Linked DNA regions of Homo sapiens: all the other regions are linked to region 1. Evidence: promoter capture Hi-C in 16 types of primary human blood cells and fetal thymus (Javierre and others, 2016). All regions are on one chromosome and are shown on one strand. Each heading gives the region's core, a stretch centred on a gene start or on the middle of the fragment in contact. The rest is flanking DNA. Distances are from core to core; before and after follow the strand shown.

Region 1 (2,762 bases), core at 143-2,642:
GCCCCTAGGCTTTGTGAATGACAGCTGGAAAGGATGGAAGTGTTTCATTTTTTAAAAATAAAAATATGATATTGTAATTTTGGACAAAGGAGTAGGGAACAAAGCCCAAGAAAGTTCAGGAAAGAATTGTGAGATTTTGTGCATATGGAGCAGTAACTCCTAGACCAGATGTCAAAGACTGCCATGAAGCTGGAGAGGAGACAATTCTCCCCATCTGTGTGGTGGAGGCTGCTCAATGTCCCCCAATTTCGCTTCATCTCATCTTGCTTATTAATACAATTTCAGTTAGGCACTCAGCTGACAGGACTATGTTTCACAGATCCCCTTGCAGCTAGGTGTGGCTTTGTAATCAGATGGAATGAGGGGATATGATTGTAGAAACTGGAGCAGCCATCTTGAATGAAAGATGCAAGGCAAGCTCTGATGATGGCAGAGTCACGAGATAAAAGGAGCCTGGGACCCTGTCACAGGACAGAGCTGCCAGCAATACCGTCTCTATAACAAACACTAAATTTAATTATTCATATCTAAATCTGAACATAGGCAGTAATTTCTAACCAGTGTTTAGCCCAGCACAAGGCCTGGGTGGTAGACTTCCAATAAATGTAGAATTAAGTTTATTCACACTATATAGACTTATTGCAAGGCAAGAATGAGACCTTAGACTTTCGTGCTCAATCTTGAAGACAATGTTTTTCAACCCTTTTCAACAGATTCTCTCTCAAAACCTAAAATCTCATCCACCATCCCACTCTCTTTTTACCAGGGAGATGTGTTTCTCAACTAAAGAAATAGAAGAAAGTGTGTTCTCTACGTATTGTCAGTTAGCTAATTAGAGCAGAATGCTGGTGATGCCAAAATCTGTAGCCCCATCCCTTATATGGCATTTGAGAGGAGCGAGTATAAAGCAGTAGATAATACCAAAGGTTTTGGCCTCAGGGCCGCAGTTATCTCTCCTTTGTGAGACCTTGGGGGCACTGTTTAACCTCTCTGGGTCTCATCCAAGAAATGGAAATACTAATAATACTCCATATGGTTGTTGCAAGGATGAAATGAGATGTCTGTAGGAAGTGCCGAGGAATGCCTAGCACAACCAAGAGCTTGTTGAACTTGTCACGCTTTACTGTCGATAATGTGCATTAAGCAAACGCTAGTTTTATTTGTTTATTTCATCTTCTAAGTATAAGAATACATTGTAGCTCGACATTTTGGCACCAGCCCCTAAAGCATTCCCACCACCACCCCCGCTGCGACAAAGCCCTGCGCTCCTTACGACAGCGTACGACGCCGAGCCTGACAGGAACGCCTCGTGCGGTAGAACCGCGCGGGCCAATCGCGCTGCTCCCGGGTGATGACGTAGGCTGCGCCTGTGCATGCGCAGGGAGGGGAGACCTTGGCGGAGCGGCGGAGGCGCCCAGCGGAGGTGAAAGTATTGGCGGAAAGGAAAATACAGCGGAAAAATGCAGAGCTGGAGTCGTGTGTACTGCTCCTTGGCCAAGGTGAGGGCCGAGTAGGTGAGGTCGTGTTGAGCCAGAGGCACGGAAGGTCCCGCTCAGTGGGTCCGGTACGCGGCTTAACCGTGTTGGGCTGGCGGAGGCGGGCGCCTGGGCCGCACCACCCCTGGCCCCGCCTCTGCACTGGCTCAGCCCGGCCCTGGGCTCCGAGGTGGCCGCTCATCCTGCAGCAGGCGAGGGACGGGGCTGGGCCCAGGCTGTGGCGAGTCCTTTCGGGTTGTGTGACGGCCGGCGGTCACACATGCCACACCCCCAAGCCTGGGCCGAGGGCCATCCCGGTCACACATAGGCCTCTACCTTGGAGGAAGTGTAAGCCACCCATGTCCCGTATAGTCTGGCTTTTTATACCATTTGCCTTTTTCTCATCCTAATTCTGATCCCTGAGTGGCCTAAGTTTATGCAGTGGGCAGGTAACCCTGGGGTCACTTCTTGAATGGTTTAGATCCAGTCAGCTCCAACAGATAGCCCTCGGAATTCCCCTAAGGTCTTGTCAGTGTTGGCAGCTTTCAACTGGTGTTCATTGCCATCTCTCACGACTTCCTGGAGGCTTAAATCTTTAATTGCAGCAGGTTATCAGAACAACTCTCCTTTTTAATCTGCTTACCAGATACAGCCAAATTGTGTGTATGTGGCACCGTGGCTGGGTACTATGTTAGTGGAGACCTTAAAAATAATATAGCGATCAAACCCTTTTGTTTCAGAGATGAGGAACCTGAGTTCTCAAAAGTTAATGTAACATTCTGCAAGTCATGCTTTTAGGGAGCGGCGGAGGTGGGACTGAAACTCAGGATTGTCAATCTGCTGCTTTTTGGGTTTGCTGTCCTGACCTCAAATGTTAAGAGTTGCCTTGGAATAGGAAACATCAGTGTAGGTTTTGTCACTGCCGCCCATTTTCCTGCTGTGAGCAGGGGTTATTTGCTTGCTTGCTTTCTGCCTCATTGCCCTTAGGAAATGGTAGCCGTCCACATATAGAGATTAGGGAGATTATGATGCAATTTGTCAAACTGTAGTAGCACCAGAACGTAAGTACATTACTTGGTGCATTTTCCTAAGTTACCTTGTCTAATTTGCTATTCCTAGTTGATGTCTCAGGAACATCTTCATAGATTGTTCTAAGTAAATACGGACTGTATATACACGCTAGCTTAGAGTTAGGAAACAAAAATTACAGGTAAAAAGATTATCATGTATAGATTATTCAAGTATTTAAGTTAGAACTTTCAGAGCTTTATTTATTTATTTATTTAT
Region 2 (2,700 bases), core at 52-2,551, 160 kb before region 1:
ACTGCCTTCCCCTCCCCTCCCCTCCCCTTTCCTTGACAAGATCTGGCTCCGTTGCCCAGGCTGCAGTGAAGTGGCATGATCATGGCTCACTGCAGCCTCAACTTCCTAGGCACAAGCAATCCTCCTGCCTCAGCTCCCCCAAGTAGCTGGGACTACAGGTGCATGCCACCATGCCTGGCAATTTTTTTTTGGTATTTTTTGTAGAGACAGGGTTTCACCATGTTGCCCACACTGGTCTCAAACTCCTGAGCTCAAGTGATCCACCTGCCTCAGCCTCTCAAAGTGCTAGGATACAGGTGTGAGCCACTGCACCGGGCCCTCTCTTTCTTTGTCCCCTTTAGTTCAAACAGATGGTGTCTCTGCTGGTATAATCCCATCTCTATGCCTGCTTTCTGTTGAAATGGCTGATTGTGTTCACGAACTGCACTCATGATCTTTTTATCAAATGGATGTTCATCCACACCCTTAGTATTCTTTTCAGGACAAGCTTTCTCATTTTTTGCAATATGGATAGGCTGATAATTTTCTCAAATCTTCAAGCTCTGGTTCCCTTTTGCTTAATTCCTTCTTCAATTCATCTCTTTCATTTCACATTTTGCTATAAGCACTCAGGAGGAACCAAGCTACTCCTCGGACACTTTGCTTAGTAAAATATCCAATTCAGCCTCACAAGTTCTACCTTCCACAAAATACTAGAACACAGTCCAGCTAAATTCTTTGCTACTTTATATCAAAGATCACCTTTCCTCCAATTAATATATTCTTCCAATGACTTGTTCTTCATTTCTGTCTGAGACCTCCCCAGAATTGCCCTTAATGGTCATATTTCTAGTATGCATCTCAAAGCTCTCCCAGTCTCTCATTATGCAGTTTCAAGCTGCTTCCACATATTTAGGTATTTGTTACACAGCACCCTGTTTCTTGGTACCAAAATCTGTATGAATCAGCTTGGGCTGCCATAACAAAATACCATAGACTGGGTGATGTAAACAAAAGAAACTTACTTTCTCACAGTTCTGAAGGCTGGAAGTCTGAGATGAGGGTGCCAGCATGGCTGGGTTCTGGTGAGACTTCTCTTGCTGGCTTGCAGACAGCTACCTTCTCACTGTGTGTTCACATAGCCTTTCCTAAGCACATGTGTGTGGAGAGAAACAGAGAGAGGAAAGCTCTTCAGTGTCTCTTCTTATAAAGGCACTGAACCCACCATGAAGCCCCACCCTCATGACCATCTAATCCTAATTATCATCCAAAGCTCCATCCCCAAACACCATAAACACTGGGGGTTAGGGCTTTAACAGGTGGAGTTGGGAGGATACAAATATTCAATTTATAGCACCGGATATCCTTTATTTTAATTTGTTTTGTTTCCATTTATTTTTGTTACAAATGAATCTGTCTAGAGTTTTTTTCCCCAACTTTTAATTATACAGTATTTTCAACACCACAGATGTTGAAAGGATACAATACTACACGCCCCCCACCAAGATTCACCAGTTGTTAACATTTTGCCATCCTTGCCTTATGTATATGCCTATCTACCTATATATATTTTGAAAGTAACTTGCACATCATGATATGCTACCTCCTACCGAGTCAGCATTCATCTCCTAACCAAAATACCATTATTATACTCAAGAATAATTATCTTATATCATCTTCTGGCCCATCTATATTAAAATTTCTCCAAATTTTTATAGCTATTTTCCCCTGAATTTGGATCCAATCAATTTCATTGCATTTGAAAAAGTGCTGTCATCTTCTATGATAACAATGCTTTTTTCTGGAATACCTCCTGAAGGACCCGCCTGAGGCTGTCTTACAGTTAATATTTTTAAAAAACAAGTAGTAGTATACTCTAAAATAATGATAACGATTAAATGCCTTTACTTTTATTAATTCAAAAAAGTCCTCCTACCCTTTTCTCCCCTCGTGACCTTGACTTTTTGAAGAGACAAAGGTGTGATAATGGCATTGTCACTATGTTATATTTTAGAGATTCATACTGAAATACTTACCAATGAAATGGGGGGAGAGCTGTTACAAAAATACAATGCATAATTAATTTGCCTCAGATTTAATTTAAACTTCTTACCTAAGTGGAATCAACTTCTTACCTAAGCTTATCAATTGCACAAGTAAACATACAGGATTGACTTACGTGGTGATAATACTGGAAAACACTGTATGTTTATGATTCTAGAATTCTACCTCAGTTTAGCATAGTTTTAAACTTAAGTTCATTAGTGATTTAGCTCATCAAAATATGTGGGTGAAAAATATTAAAACTCCAACTAAAAACCCCTCAAATAAGACTAGAATAAAATTCTAAGAATCACCCTAAATCATTCTACTCAGGAATAACTTTTGCTATGGTCTGAATGCTTTTATCTCCCTAAAATTTATATGTTGAAATCTCACCCCCAATGTGATGGTCTTAGGAGGTGGGACTGTTGAGAGGTGGCTAGGTCATGAGGGCAGCACCCTCATGAATGGGATTAGTGCCCTCAAAAAGAGGCTCCAGCGAGTGCAGTGGCTCATGCCTGTAATCCCAGGACTTTGGGAGGCTGAGTCAGGCAGATCACGAGGTCAGGAGATCGAGACCATCCTGGCTAACACAGTGAAACCATGTCTCTACTAAAAATACAAAAAATTAGCCGGGAGTGTTGGCGGGCGCCTGTAGTCCCAGCTACTCAGGAGGCT
Region 3 (2,866 bases), core at 7-2,506, 200 kb after region 1:
GACGGGGTTTTACCGTGTTAGCCAGGCTGGTCTTGAACTCCTGACCTCGTGATCCATCTGCCTCGGCCTCCCAAAGTGCTGGGATTACAGGCATGAGCCACCAGGCTCGGCCGTGTAACTGCTTTTAAAAAAACTGATAGGTTCCCTTACCACAACAACCCCTGGGAATTTTACCCATACAATACTGAAATACTTGGAGGCAGAGAAATCCTTCAAGCTAATTTTGAGATATTACATGAATACCACACTTTAGCATAGGCATTTGTTTATCAATCAGTTGTTTTGGCATAATAACATGAATCCATATGAGAGAGTCAACTCTATTGTTCCAGACTTTTTCCATCATTGCAACATCTTGACCGTTGTTCAAAATAAACAGCTGGTGAGATACAAGTAACTATTTTCTAAGTGTTATAATATTTAGTATAAAATGCTAAAAAAAATTCTCCTCCCACACATCTCAATTGAACATGCTCCGATAAAACTTAAATTTTAGTAGGTATGAAATTCTCTTTGGAAATGGTCTTGTTAAGCATCCATATTTTTTGTATCTTGGTATAATTTTATGCATGATTTTACTCAAAAAGGTGTCTTTTAGATATTAAACATTGATGTCTTTGGACACAATGCGACAAAGGACTTGATGTTTTTCCCCAAACCAAAACTTCAGTTTAAGAAAAAAAAATGATGTGATAGGAACTGCTTCCCACAGGATGTGGTTGTGAAAACTTCCTCTAGGACAGGGAATGCTGCCATGCTGGCCACCTCAGGGCAGATCCAGGGCACCATCAGAGAGATGTGGATGTGGAGAACCTAGTGGGTGCATGGGCTCAGCCACGATGGACAGTTCCCCCATGGGGGGGGTCCCTGTTCAGTTATTTTGCTTGCTTGCCCTGCAAGCAAAAGTGAGTCTGTACTGCACACGTAGCAGTTAACCAGCCAGTGAAAAAAGTCAGCCTGAGCCTAAGCTTTGTCTGGAATTACATGATTTGGTCGATCACATAATTTCAGGATTTGTTGATCCTGTAACCAACTGTGCTCCTTTTTTTGTGTTACACACTTATGGTCATGGAGGTTGGCGTGGCTGACCTTTCTCTTTAAGGTACAATTTTCAGATTTTTTGACTTGTCTTCCAGAATCCCTTCTTCATATTTCCTTCCTTGCTTCTTTCCCCCACCCCCTCTGCCCCATCCTGTTTTCAGTAAAATGACTTAAAATATCAGCACAAAACCATGTCCTCATAGGCATATGTTTCTTATTCATCAGCTACATTTCTTCAGACACATCGAGGTCACTGTTCTTTTATTAGGTTAAGATTTTGTGGGTTTTTTTTTTTTCTCTCTAAAATGTCATGGTGAGCTGCCAAGATTGGAGAACAAAGAAAAGAGTTGGGTTTGAACTCCCCAATTGCATCATGCATTTCTTATGGAGTGAATATGTTTTATTTTACTAATTTTAGATGATACATCTAAAATTGTATGTTTAGTAGAGTCTGTGAAAAATCCAAGAGTTTATTTCCCACAGGAATCTAAAATACATTAAACCTAAGCTTGTTTTTTTATAAGACCTTATCCAAAACATTTTTAGGAAGGGAGTGGTAGGGATGATAAGGGGATTGTGTACAAGGGATAGAAGAAAGTTCTGGTGGCCCAAAACATAGACAGATAAATGTGCTTCTATTCTACTGCTTGGCATTTTCAGGAAAAGAGTGGATAAACCTAATAATATCTGTGCCTGGGTCGGTTTAGTCCAGTCCAGTGGTGAGCTGGTAAATGTTTAACAGGCAGCTCAATGCAGGGGTGAGGGGAGGCTGATAGGTAGTGTTTGCTGATTTCTGTAGTGTAAATACTCATACCACTGGAGTATTAAAACACAATAGGACAAGAAAGAGATTAGCAAAACCAAGTCTTACCTAGGCAATGGCAATAGAAATCTGTATCACTATAGAAAAGGGAAACTATAGGCAAATACATACAGTGCATTCTTCGCAGTGTGCTCCGGTGACATATGACAGGCACAAGCATTGGCCTGTATCCACATCACAGGTCAAGAATGGCAGACTCCCAAGGGGGTTACAGTCGCAGGCTGAAAGCACAGCATACACAATTATTCTCATTCTTAATTCCTCCACTCTTGCAAGTGTACTTAATAGCTCACACAAAGCAAGAAGCATAACCGCAAGAACACAGAGAAGCCTGCCCTGCCAGGTTTATTGTGTGCCTGGCTGCGTGATTATTGTTTTGCATATAACCTCACAGAGGAAATCCTGTGTCAGGCACTTCCAGAGCCTCATGTAGTTTTACTGGATGGCAATTAGGAGGAGGAGACAAGTAGGTGTAGCTAGTTGTACATGCTGCAGTACTGGCACAGTAACCCTAAGTGATGCTGACCAGGCTGGTGACTCAGAGGCAGGAGTTTCTGGGAGTCATGGTTATTACTGATCGCTCCTTCTCTGGCAGATGCATCTGGAATCCCACTCTCTCTTCTCTCCTTTAGTACTTTGTTACTTTTTGTCTTAATTCCCCCCTCCTTCTTCTCCTCTACCCGTAGACATTTCTGAGCCCTGCATATGTTGCAAAGGCTAAAAAGACATGCTACCAGAGCAAGGAATACACTTGCAGCAAATACCAACGTTCATGGAAATAACCCAAATGTCCCATTGACTAATGAATGGATAAATAAAAGTGGCACCTCTGTACAATAGTATGTTATTCAGCAATAAAAAATAAAGACCGATGTAATCTGCAATATGGATAAAACTTGAAAACATTACTAATTGTACCATCTTAACCATTTTAAGCAGGCAGTTCAATTGTGTTAAGCACATTAACATCGTTGCATAAACAAACTCCAGAACGCTTTTCAT

What was found. The method cuts DNA at HindIII sites, captures the fragments that hold promoters and counts their contacts. A CHiCAGO score of 5 or more calls a contact.
Region 2: a contact is called between a fragment that was not itself captured here and the fragment with the promoter of DLD in region 1, in 2 of 17 cell types (non-activated CD4 T cells and naive CD8 T cells). The highest score is 5.3, in non-activated CD4 T cells.
Region 3: a contact is called between a fragment that was not itself captured here and the fragment with the promoter of DLD in region 1, in 1 of 17 cell types (M2 macrophages). The highest score is 6.2, in M2 macrophages.

Annotation. Positions count from the first base shown.
Region 1 is chr7:107,889,791-107,892,552 of GRCh38, forward strand. It overlaps DLD (dihydrolipoamide dehydrogenase), which reads left to right and starts at 1,393. Exons shown (of 14, transcript NM_000108.5): 1 at 1,393-1,499. The coding sequence starts at 1,461. RefSeq lists enhancers at 1,094-1,173, 1,131-1,813, 1,324-1,563 and a silencer at 1,624-1,733. The HindIII fragment of the contact is 5,175 bases long and covers 1-2,762 here.
Region 2 is chr7:107,727,431-107,730,130 of GRCh38, forward strand. No RefSeq gene overlaps it. Among named protein-coding and RNA genes, the nearest start is that of CBLL1, 15 kb to the right of the region's middle. The HindIII fragment of the contact is 1,632 bases long and covers 486-2,117 here.
Region 3 is chr7:108,093,253-108,096,118 of GRCh38, forward strand. It overlaps LAMB4 (laminin subunit beta 4), which reads right to left. Exons shown (of 34, transcript NM_007356.3): 12 at 1,976-2,085. Among named protein-coding and RNA genes, the nearest start is that of LAMB4, 36 kb to the right of the region's middle. The HindIII fragment of the contact is 581 bases long and covers 967-1,547 here.